Regions from separate parts of the Homo sapiens genome. Here all the other regions are linked to region 1. Evidence: promoter capture Hi-C in 16 types of primary human blood cells and fetal thymus (Javierre and others, 2016). All regions are on one chromosome and are shown on one strand. Each heading gives the region's core, a stretch centred on a gene start or on the middle of the fragment in contact. The rest is flanking DNA. Distances are from core to core; before and after follow the strand shown. Region 1 holds the start of IPPK (inositol-pentakisphosphate 2-kinase). Region 2 has its middle 36 kb from the start of LINC00475. Region 3 overlaps IARS1 (isoleucyl-tRNA synthetase 1). Region 4 overlaps CENPP (centromere protein P).

Region 1 (2,834 bases), core at 162-2,661:
TGGTCCATTATTAATTCACCTAAAGATCTTGAGCAAAGCTTGTAGTCTCTGTTCTTTAGTTCCCTGTGCTAATGAGCAACAAAATCCAAAGGCACAACCTAGGGGCTACCTGGGTGTTTGCAGCTTACACTACAGCTGACCAATGCACCCAGCATAGGAACAACAGAAGCAAGGCAGGACTCCACTGCCTACATCATCCCTGACAAGCTGTTCGACTCGGGCAATGCCCTTAACCTCTCTGATTTTCACTTTATTTATCTGTCCAAGGGATGACAATTATCACTTGCTAAGCATAACTTGATGGGTTCCTGCGTAACTGGTCTTTGCAACAATCCCACAAAGTGAATTCTACTACTAGTTCCACTTCACAAATGTAGACACTGAGATTCCTGTGCCTTTAACACCCATGCTCTAACTCCTCCCTACATGACACCTATCCTCGCCTCCCTCACCCCCCTCCCCCGTTCCAGCCGGCCACATTCCTGCGTGGTTGTACCAGACAGCAAAAGGTCAGAGAGATCTGGGCCCTCACAGAAACCCACACGCTTCACTCTTGGGATTCACCTTTGCGAGATCTTACTGCAGTTTCTAAAACTTTCACCCTCGTTGAATTCAGGTGAAAGCCTTCAAATTCTAAAAGGTTGAGAAGAGGACCTGTGGACAACATCCCCTTACTATTAACAGCACAGCAATTCCGTAGTCTCACGAGGCTGAACTCTTTTGGTGCTGAGAGTAACAGCACTGTGGGCACTCTGCTTCTTCCTCCAGTGCTGGCCGGGCCCTCCGTCCCAACCAAGCCTCCACCCCACTGCGGCCTGGCAGTCCGGCGGGCATCCAGGCGGGAGGCGGCACCGCGTGAGGCTGAGCGCGGCACCGACGGGGCGGGGAGGGGGATGTGGAACTGACTCTGACGGGGAACGGGAATACTGAGGGGACGACAGACCGGCCAGGAGAAGGATCTGGGGCAATGGGAGACTGACCCAGTAGAGAGGGGATACTGGGGTGATGAGGAACCCAAGCGGTAGGGGGGGATGCTGGAGGGTGGGGGAATTCCGGAGACCGGCCGGGGAGGAGGAAGGTACTGGGGGGACGTGGAACCGACCCTGTTGAGGAAACGGATAATGGGGGCGGGGTGATACCGGCCGTCGGAGTGAGGTACCGGACCTGCGCCGCACGTCCACCGCTCACCTGCGCGTGGGCCACCACCAGGCTCTTATTGCCCTCTCCGTGGTACCCCCATTCATTCTCGTCCATCTTCCCCTCTTCCATGCCCAGGCGCAGCCCTGGCGCCTCGCGGGCTAGGACTCGGGGACGCGAGCTGGGGGCCGCCCGCCTCGCTGGGAACCAGCCGCTGCGGTCGGGGGAGGAGCGCCTGTCAGCTGCCGCCCCCGCTCGACCCCGCCGCGGCGACTAGCAAGCTGTGGCCGCCGGAAGCCACGCCCCCGGCGCCTGCCATGACGGAGTCGGGCAATTCCGGGTTCGTGACACTTTCCTCACACCGATCGCGACGGTGGATGGGCCGGCGGCCATCTTAGGTACTGGTAGAGCGACTCATTTCCGGAACGCGGTCTTGGGAGCCGGAAGAGAAGCTTCCGGCCTCGGCGCCGGATGTGTAGCTGGCGGAAGGAGCCGGCGGCTTTTCGGCGCCCGGTAGTGACCGGCAGTCCCCGGGTAGCCAGGGTGTCTGGGTGTTGGGACCGCTTAGTCGCGAGACCCCAGCAAACCTCTTGGCGTCTCTGAGCCTCAGCTTTTGCTTCTGTAGAATAGGGTGTACTCATCGTACATTTCATGGGAATACCTAACGCAGTCATTTGGATGGTCCTGTGAGGTAGAAAACATTGTCCAACGTTCTACGCGAGGAAATGTGGCTGGGCCACAGGACTGGACTCCCCAGTCCCGCTTTTGCCTGAAGACTTCGAGGGACGCAGTTGGAGCGCAAGGCTCCTGCTTGGCGGTGAGGCAGAGGGCTAACGACCTTCCTTCTCCTAAATTCACTGATGCGGCGGCAAGAATGGCACCGCCTCGTAGAGCTACCGCATTTCCCAAACTCGTAGTCTCAGGACCACTTTATACTCATAAAAATGAGGGCCCCAAGCTTTTGCTAATGTGGGTTACAGCTATCGATGTTACCACATTCTAAGTTAAAATGCTTTAAAGTTTTTTGTTGTTTCGTTTAAAAGTAAACAGCCGGGCGCGGTAGCTCACGCCTGTAATCCCAGCACTTTGGGAGGCTGAGGCGGGCGTATCACCTGAGGTCAGGAGTTTGAGACCAGCCTGGCCAACATGGTGAAACCCTGTCTCTACTAAAAATACAAAAATGAGCCAGGTATGGTGGCGCAGGCCTGTAATCCCAGCTACTCCGGAGGCTGAGGCAAGAGAATCATTTGAACCCAGGAGGCGGAGGTTGCGGTAAGCCAAGATCGCGCCATTGCACTCCAGCGTGGACGACAGAGTGAGACTCCATCTCAAAAAAAAAAAAAAAAAAAAAAGTAAACATTACATTCCACGCCCACCACCAAAATAAAGGAGTGGTATTGTTTTACACTTTTGCAAATCTTTTTAAAATCTGACCTAATAGGTTCTCACATGTGCTTCGGCATTCGGTCTGCTGCAATATATTGCATTGGTTGACATACACATTGTGAAGAACATCTGCAGTTATGTAGTTCACAAAGAGAGGACCTGCAGACCCAACTTTGAGAACGGCTGGGCACCTTGCCAGGCCTTGGGAATTGTAGTGAAATCAGGCCAGTGACTCAGGAAAATGAGCTGAAGGCTTTGAGCATCTCTTTCCTCCATTTTAGGCCTCAAAAGGGAGGCTGGGGCAGGGCATG
Region 2 (2,834 bases), core at 166-2,665, 490 kb before region 1:
GCGCAGAGCTCTGAGCATGGCTGACCTAAACCTCGGCTTTTGGCTTGGCATCAGGACCCTCCTCCATCTGCTTCTGTCAGTCTTTCCCAGACCCTCATGTTTTGAAAGCACTCTAGCTGCAGGCTGGAACCCTCTTCTCATGGCTGGGATCCTGTTCCCCAGTCCTGCTCAATTACTTTGTGCACCAGCCACTTCCCTTTTTCCGTCTCCACTGGGAGTCGAACCTCCCTCCTCCACGCCCCAGGAGCGCTGTTCCTGTACTTCAGAGAAGCCCTTGCTCCCTGACACTGTGGACACCAGGTGTAGTTTCAGCTCCTCTGAAGGCCTGGGTGCTTCCTGTGGCAGGAGCAACGTTGAGTGCAGACTGACCCCACTCCCTCCCAGCTGGCGGCCTCAGCTCCCTCAGCACCCCTAGTGTCCCCCCTACCCCTGCTTTCCTCCTAGGAGCCCACAGTTGAGATTCTTTGTGTGAGGTCCCAGGTTCCTGCCCTGGGAGTCAGACAATGAATCCTATGGAAAGGGCAAGCACTAAGGAGCAGGAGGGGCCTTGGAGGGCCGTGCGGGGTGGAGGAGGAGCAGATGACTCTTTTGTTGGGTTTGGTTTTGTGTTGCCAAGCTTGGTTTGGGGAATGGCAGTTGATAGGCAGAAAAGCCAGGATTAGGAACCATTTAGAGGGACAGTGGGCTAGGGAGAGGGAGGGTCAAGCATGGACACCTAGGCCGAGCAGAGAGAAGGGGTCGAGGGGCTCTGCGGTCATCACAGGGTCTGCCATGGGGCCCTGAGGGTAAGTGGCAGCAGGAGCCAGGTCTGTGGCAGCACAAGGGCTGCGCAGGGCCCAGGCAGGCCAGCAGCCCTCAGAGGCTTGGGTGGAGAGCAGGTGTGAGGAGCCAGCGCGGGGTCAGAAAGAGGAGTGAGCCTCATGATTTTGTCAATCCAGTTGATGAAGTAGGTGACCCTGGTGAAGATGCTGGGGTAGGCAGGATGCCGGCAGTCCAGGCCCCAGCTGGCCAGCCCCACCAGGACCCAGGCACTGGGGAGGTAGCAGACTAGAGGCCCCCCAGAATCGCCCTGAGAACAAAGAAAGAGGAGTTAGCTTTGGGGGATGAGTGTGTCTGAGACACCAGGTGGCAAGGTCGGACGTTCTGCGCCTCTGCTCTCTGAGTCAGGGTCCCGCTGCAGACCCACCAGATGGAAATCTCCAGGCATCAAGCTCCTGAGCTGACCCTCAGAGTGGACAATCATAGATCTGAATCTACCAACACGTGAACCCACCCTCTGCCCTCTACACCCAGGACAACACACTGCTTGAAGCCTAGAGGGGACAGCTGTATGTACAGGGCCTGAGAGGCGCTGGGCCTGCTAGCAAAGCACAGCCAGCTGAAACCTCTGTGCAGAGCGCAGCTCTTGTGAACCCTAAGCTGCAGCAGAACATCCCCTCTGGGCGCCCCGTCCTTTTTTGTTCATTTAGGCCTTTGGTTTTCTCTCAACTTTTTGGTAAAGTATCTTTAGAAAGTGCCCATGCCCAGGCCCTGTGGAGACAGCCCACATCACTAGGGAAGCAGGCAGGGGTCTCCAGAAAGTTGCTTGGAGTTACTGGAGTCCTGAAATGCTGTCAGGGTGGGATCATGCAGTTGAAAGCCCCCTATATCATGGGCCAAAAAGTGAGACCCAAAGAAAGGGTCTCAGCTGGGCACGGTAACTCACACCTGTAATCACAGCACTTTGGGAGGCTGAGGCAGGCGGATCACGAGGTCAAGAGATTGAGACCATCCTGGCCAACATGGTGAAGCCCTGTCTCTACTAAAAATACAAAAATTAGCTGGGCATGGTGGCGTGTACCTGTACTCCCAGCTACTCGGGAGGCCGAGGCAGGAGAATCGCTTGAACCCAGGAGGCGGAGGTTCCAGTGAGCCAAGATCATGCCACTACACTCCAGCCTGGCAACAGAGCGAGACTCCTTCAAAAAAAAGGAAAGAAGGAAGGAAGGAAGGAAGGGAGGGAAAAAAGAAAGGGTCTCATCTTCAGGGTGGTGGGAGGCAGGGCCCACAGCCGGCTCTTCCGCCCACTAGTCCAGGGTGCACCTGGGGCATCCAGTGCAGGCACTGCTCTTGGGAAACACGGGGAAAAGACAAACCCTGTCCCCCATGGTGCATAGATAAATAAGCCAACTGACCCTATGGAAGCGGGAGGACATTTCGTATCCATGGATCACAACAAGCTTTCCTGACCTTACACTCAAATAGGAAACAGAACCTACTTCTGCGAGGTCCAGAAGAGAGGGCCCAGTTGGCGCAAACCAGGAGAGGATGGGGCAAACCTTGTGGGAGGGAGTGAGGGGGCAGAGGGAGGTCTCAGAGCTGCAGAGGGGCAACTTGGAGAACTGTATGCTGGAGGGTGGGGGACACGTGACCTGTTTAAACCATCAGTCTGGTGCCATGTAGAGAAAGAAGTTGCTGAGCACCAGGTAGAGAGGAGGGACCAGGGAGGAAACTACAGGAGGGAAGAAATGGTCAGATTTGGGATGGTATTTTGAAGGAGGAGCCAAAGGACTTGTGGACTCTGGCCTTTTCTTACCAACCAGGGAAAAGGAGTGGAGACAAAAGGAAGAAGGCTAAGAACTCGGCTCTGGGGTCTCCAGCACTGAGAGGCCGGAAGGGCCCAGCCCCTCTCAGGCCCTGTACATACAGCTGTTCCTTCTAGGCTTCAAGCAGTGTGTTGTCCTGGGTGTGGAAGGCAGAGGGTGGGTCCACGTGTGATAGATTCAGATCCATAATTGTCCACTCTGAGGGTCAGCTCAGGAGCTTTGATACCTGGAGATTTCTATCTGGTGGGT
Region 3 (2,834 bases), core at 181-2,680, 390 kb before region 1:
GGAACTTAAAACTAAACTTGAAAAATAACCATAAAATTTTAATTGTTGTAACCTAAATCACCTTGAAACATTTTAGAAGTTATAGTATGATAGGTGCTAAAACTTCGATAGTTTAAACAGAAAGACAGAATACATGGGTCCTTAGAATTACATGTATACTTAGTTACATGTTCTATACTTAGAAGCAGTATAGACAAAGTCACTGCATCTTGTCTCTCAGGGTCTACTTTGGGCCTACCCAGGCCATGGCTGGGCTGCTTCCACCCAGGTCAGTAGATACCAACCACCAGGAGCAGCAGTGCTGCTCCATAGGCAGTGTCCGCTGACTCAGCTTCCCTCGATATTTCACAACAGGTATATTTCAGTGAACATCAGATGATTCCGTCCTGGGTCAAACGATTTATAGTACTTGCCTAAAGTCACCGAAGGTTTCAGGTAGTTTAAGAAGCTTATTTAATGAGTAGGTGTTATTCAACTTAATACCTACCAAGTGCATATTCCAGACAGACCTCTACTTAACCTAAAGTTCCTGTCTAGTGTATCCATGTGCATTCTTTCAGGGGGTTGAGTTTTTGGGTTCTCAATAGGTTTTGTGATTCAGAAAGGTGAGAGTCACTGATCCAGTGGAAGAGATTTCAGATAATAAAAAAAATACAACATAAAACAAAGTATGTTAAGCTATATGATAGGAGAATGGAATGAAGTAATGACATTTTTCCAAGGGAGAAACCAAAGATGCATTTCAGAAAACTTTCAGAGGACATCTGAGTTCAGACCTGAAGGGTGAGTTAACTCAGCAGATATCAACATAAGAAAAAAATAAAGACTTTTAAGACAGTAGGAAAACTTAATTAAAGAAAGGCAGGGAAGCAGGAAAGGGAAGAGCCAGTTTGACTGAATAAAGGATATGTCTAAAGTAATGTGGGAGGATGTGGTCAGGAAGCAGCTCTGCCACATACCGACTGGGGAGGGCACGTCCTAATTGCTGGTAAATAACTAACGCCTGTAGGGAGGAATGGGATGAGGGCAGAACATATGGAAATCCACTGGGCAGCAACGTGGGAGGAGGAAGAAGGCTATCAAGTAGGCAACGAGAAATGTGGGAAAACACTCAAGAGGCACAAAAGTGAAAAGGCAGGTAACAGACACACCATGGATAGGGCCCAAACCACAGAGGTCTCCTTAATCAACCAGACTCTCCCCACACGGAACAGAAACAACTGAGGGTTCAGCGAACATTTTTTTCTGGGATGGGACGTAAGTGATATGTCCAGTTGATTATTATTTCCACATAAGGCCAGGTCTGCTCATTATCTCATTTCAAGACCTTTAAATAAGGACGGAGAAATTCCTCTTTGACACTATTCTTTCGGTGAGAGAGTGTGGGAGTGGGGACAGCAGGGTTTGCAACTGTAGCTGTGGATTCTCCACTGTCAGAAAATAAAACCACATAAAACAACTTTATGACTCTGAAGAAACTAAGGTGCTAAATGTATGAGCTCTGTCGTGGTGCCTAGATTTAAAACACCTGCCTCATTAACCTCCTTGAAATAAAATTGTGTTTACCTTTCCACATGATGTTTTACTGTGATTACTATCTTAACTTTGTCAAAACAAACAAACAAACAAAAACCTCAATAAATACCCTGGGTGATATGTAGACTACATGCAATAAAAATATACACCTAAAAATCCAATCAAATGTAAAATGATTCCTCATACAATTTGAGAAAAATATTCAAATAAAAAATCCCAGCTTGGCCAGGCACGGTGGCTCACAAGGTCAGGAGTTCAAAACCAGCCTGGCCAAGATGGTGAAACCCCATCTCTACTAAAAAGTACAAAAATTACAGCATGCCTGTAATCCCAGCTGCTCGGGAGGCTGAGGCAGGAGAATTGCTTGAACCTGGGGGGCAGAGGTTGCAGTCAGCCAAGATCGCGCTATTGCACGATATTTGCACTCCATCTCAAAAACAACAACAACAAAAAATCCCAGCCAGGTGCAGTGGCTCATGCTTGCAATTCCAGGAGTTCAAGACCAGCCTGGGCAGCATAGCGAGATTCTGTCTCTACAAAAAACTAAAAACTTAGCCCGGTGTGGTGCTGTGTGCCAGTAGTCCCAGCTACTCGGGATGGGGCAGGGGAATCACTTGAGCCCAAGAGGTCGAGGTTGCAGTGAGCTGTGATTGTGCCACTGCACTCCAGCCTGGGGGACAGAGGAAACCCTGTTTTTAAAAAAAAAAAAAAAAATCCTCTAAGACAAGAAAGCTACACAAACAATTTAATTTTGTTGGTACTAAAGCAGACTTTCTGGATTCAGGTACACTCATAAAAGTAATGTCAATTCCACTTCTCACAACACCCCAGCTATCAAATAATCAGATTGTGGAGAGCGCCCACAGTAGCGGTCCCTAAGCTTACCTTCAGGAAATAGTCAAACAGGGGCCTGTACTTCTTGCCTTTAAGATAGGCACCAGGAAATCTAGAAAAGGAGAAAGGCAAACTCACAATTAGATTAAAATCAAATATGAGGCTGCAGCCACATCAAGCTACCACTCCCCTCTGGTTTACTGGCTTCTTAGCCCTAGCCATTCATGCTGTAATGTGTGACTGCAAAGTACTTAGTATAGTATTAGTACTTAAAACTAAATTTGAATAATGCAAGCTTTTGGATAACAAAGTTTATTTCTTTTTAAAACTAAAGACACACATACAGACACATGCACACAAACACAGAGCAACTATTTGAATATTCACCTTTCAAGGATCTCATAGTCACTCTCCAATTTATAGAGGGCTGACAATCTGGCTTCCATTAAAATGAGTAATCGTCC
Region 4 (2,834 bases), core at 218-2,717, 320 kb before region 1:
CTGTTAATATTTTTGTGAATTAATTTCTGATGGTCACCTAATTTTAGATGTAATAGTCCCAGGAATTTATTGTTAGAATAAAATTTTGGAATCTTTATCCTAAATTTCTCTTTGTGTTCGCTTTATACTTGAGAAGGAGACATTTGGAGTTATTTTTGTTTCCTGACTACTTTAGCTGAAATTGAAATGGGTTACTGCCAACATTTTATGAAAGAAATCCATGACATCTGTTTTACGTTTAGTGAAGTTTGGACTTTGCTTAGGAAAAATAGATAAATTACAGTCATTCTTACAGCTGTGAGAGCCAACACCCACACCCACACACAAAATTTCTTTCTATATGGAAAACTCTTATGTGCTGTAGTACAGTATCCTTTATGAAGATGCAAATGGAAGAATAAAGGAATTGTGAATTTTTTAAAGTTCATTGTAAAAGAACAGTCTTTTCTTCTGTGTGTATGTGTTTAAACTTGAGTCATCATAGCTTTTAAGATTATTTTCATGGCTTACTCCCTCATCACATGATTAAGAGTTTATTTTTTTGCTCACTTGTTTGATGGAGAACGAAATATCGTGTCACTGTGGCCTTTAAGCGTGAATGAACTAATTTCTCCTCTTTGTAGGCCCATACTTTTTGGAAAACAATTTTTTTCAGATGTTTAAATAATTTTTAAAATAGTTATTAGACTGACTTTTAACACATAATCTCCAGTGTTCCCTATAAACTACATGCTTATGCAGCTTTGTGTTAATTCAGCTATTATTTTATGTTCTTTGTTTTCAGTGAATCTACTTGGTTTTTTTGTTCACTATTGCCCAGGCTGGTCTCAAACTCCTAGGCTCAAGCAGTCCTCTTGCCTTAGCCTCCCAAAGTGTTTATCAGGAATTAGACTAGCACAGAGAACATGAAATCATTTCCTGAAGCTTGAGCTGACATCTGAAAAATGAGTAGGTGTGAACTAACACCTACTAACACCCTTTCTTGCCTTCTTTTAGATTATTTAACTTGTTTTCCTATTTTTTTACTGTGGCAAAATACTTACAAAATCTACCAACTCAACCATGTTAAAGAGTACACTTCAATAATAGTAAATACATTCATTATGTTGTACAACCATCACCACTATCTGTCAACATAACTCTTTCCTCTTTTAAAACAGAAACTTTGGCCAGGTGTGGTGGCTCACGCCTATAATCCCAGCACTTTGGGAGGCTGAGGCGGGTGGATCATGAGGTCAGGAGTTCAAATCCAGCATGGTGAAACCCTGTCTCTACTAAAAATACAAAAACTAGCTGGGCATGGTGGCACGTGACTGTAGTCCCAGCTACTTGGGAGGCTGAGGCAGGAGAATCGCTTGAACCTGGGAGGCGGAGGTTGTGGTGAGCCGAGAGCACCACTACACTCCAGCCTGGGTGACAGAGTGAGACTATCTCAAAAAAAAAAAAAAAAAACCAGAAACTTTGTACCCATAAACAATAACTCCCACTTCCTCCCTCTCCTCATCCACCATTCTACTTTTTGTCTGTGTGATTTTGATTAATACTATCTAAGTATTAATCTAAGTACCTCATATAAGTAGAATCATACAGTATTTGCCTTTTTTCTTTAGATGGAGTCTCGCTCTGTCGCCCAGGCAGGCGTGCAGTGGTGTGATCTCTGCTCACTGTAACCTCTACCTCACCAGGGATTCTCCTGCCTCAGCCTCCCAAGTAGCTGGGATTACAGGCACCCGCTACCATGCCCAGCTAATTTTTATATTTTTAGTAGAGAAGGGGTTTTGCCATATTGGCCAGGCTGGTCTTGAATTCCTGACCTCAGGTGATCTAGCCATCTCGGCCTCCCAAAGTGCTGGGATTACAGGCGTGAGCCACTGTGCCTGGCCAGTATTTGCCTTTTTTGACTGGTTTATTTCGCTGAGTGTAATGTTGTCAAGGTTCATCCATGTGGCATAAGTCAGAATTTCTTTTTCTTTTTCTTTTCCTTTTTTTTTTTTTTTTTTAAGCACCACACAAGCTTTATTTGCACCATCTATATAAGATAGTCCTGGCCATGCACAGTGGCTCATACCTGCAATCCCAGCATGTTGGGAGGCCAAGGTGGGCACATCACCTGAGGTCAGGAGTTAGAGACAAGCCTGGCAAACATGGAGAAACCCTGTCTATACTAAAAATACAAAAATTAGCTGAGTGTGGTGGTGGGCGCCTGTATCCCCAGCCACTCGGGAGGCTGAGGCACGAAAATCGCTTGAACCGGGGAGGCGGAGGTTGCAGTGAACCAAGATTGTGCCACTGCACTCCTCTGGGTGACAGAGCAAGACATCATCTGAAAAAACAAAACCAAAACCAAAAAAAACTAAGATAGTTCTGTGAATCTGTCCCATTGAGAGAAGACAGGGCCTTTTCTCTCAAGCCTGTTGCTTAAAGCCTGTGTGTGTGTGTGTGTGTGTGTGTGTGTGTGTGTGTGTATACATATATATATATATATATATATATATATAATATAACGGGGAGTTTATTAAATATTAACTCACATGATCACAAGGTCCCGTAATAGGCCGTCTGCAGGCTGAGGAGCAAGGAGAGCCAGCCTGAGTTCCAAAACTGAAAAACTTGGAATTCAGTGTTCAAGGACAGGAAGCATCCACCACAGGAGAAAAATGTAGGCTGGGAGGCTAGGCCAGTCTAACCTTTTCATGTGTTTCTGCCTGCTCTATATTCACTGGCAGCTGATTAGATAGTGCCCATCCAGATTAAGGGTGAGTCTGCCTTCTCCAGCCCACTGTCTCAAATGTTAATCTCCTTTGGCAATACCCTCACAGACGCACCCAGGATTA

The links. Contacts are between HindIII fragments. The CHiCAGO score rates a contact against its expected background, and 5 or more counts as called.
Region 2: a contact is called between a fragment that was not itself captured here and the fragment with the promoter of IPPK in region 1, in 1 of 17 cell types (megakaryocytes). The highest score is 5.0, in megakaryocytes.
Region 3: a fragment that was not itself captured here is called in contact with the fragment with the promoter of IPPK in region 1 in 2 of 17 cell types (megakaryocytes and endothelial precursors); the score reaches 9.3 in megakaryocytes.
Region 4: a fragment that was not itself captured here is called in contact with the fragment with the promoter of IPPK in region 1 in 1 of 17 cell types (M0 macrophages); the score reaches 5.7 in M0 macrophages.

What each region holds. Positions count from the first base shown.
Region 1 is chr9:92,668,720-92,671,553 of GRCh38, forward strand. IPPK (inositol-pentakisphosphate 2-kinase) reads right to left here and starts at 1,412. Exons shown (of 13, transcript NM_022755.6): 1 at 1,189-1,412. The coding sequence starts at 1,269. LOC107987095 (a long non-coding RNA gene) reads left to right here and starts at 1,643. Exons shown (of 2, transcript XR_001746837.2): 1 at 1,643-1,954. RefSeq lists enhancers at 514-683, 1,424-1,873, 1,884-1,933, 2,688-2,834 and a silencer at 1,204-1,383. The HindIII fragment of the contact is 1,551 bases long and covers 37-1,587 here.
Region 2 is chr9:92,176,406-92,179,239 of GRCh38, forward strand. It overlaps the pseudogene PRSS47P. Among named protein-coding and RNA genes, the nearest start is that of LINC00475, 36 kb to the left of the region's middle. The HindIII fragment of the contact is 1,603 bases long and covers 615-2,217 here.
Region 3 is chr9:92,275,442-92,278,275 of GRCh38, forward strand. IARS1 (isoleucyl-tRNA synthetase 1) reads right to left here. Exons shown (of 34, transcript NM_002161.6): 8 at 2,758-2,834; 9 at 2,422-2,482. Among named protein-coding and RNA genes, the nearest start is that of MIR3651, 16 kb to the right of the region's middle. The HindIII fragment of the contact is 1,968 bases long and covers 447-2,414 here.
Region 4 is chr9:92,350,042-92,352,875 of GRCh38, forward strand. The region is part of intron 4 of CENPP (centromere protein P); the gene reads left to right. Among named protein-coding and RNA genes, the nearest start is that of CENPP, 26 kb to the left of the region's middle. The HindIII fragment of the contact is 1,090 bases long and covers 923-2,012 here.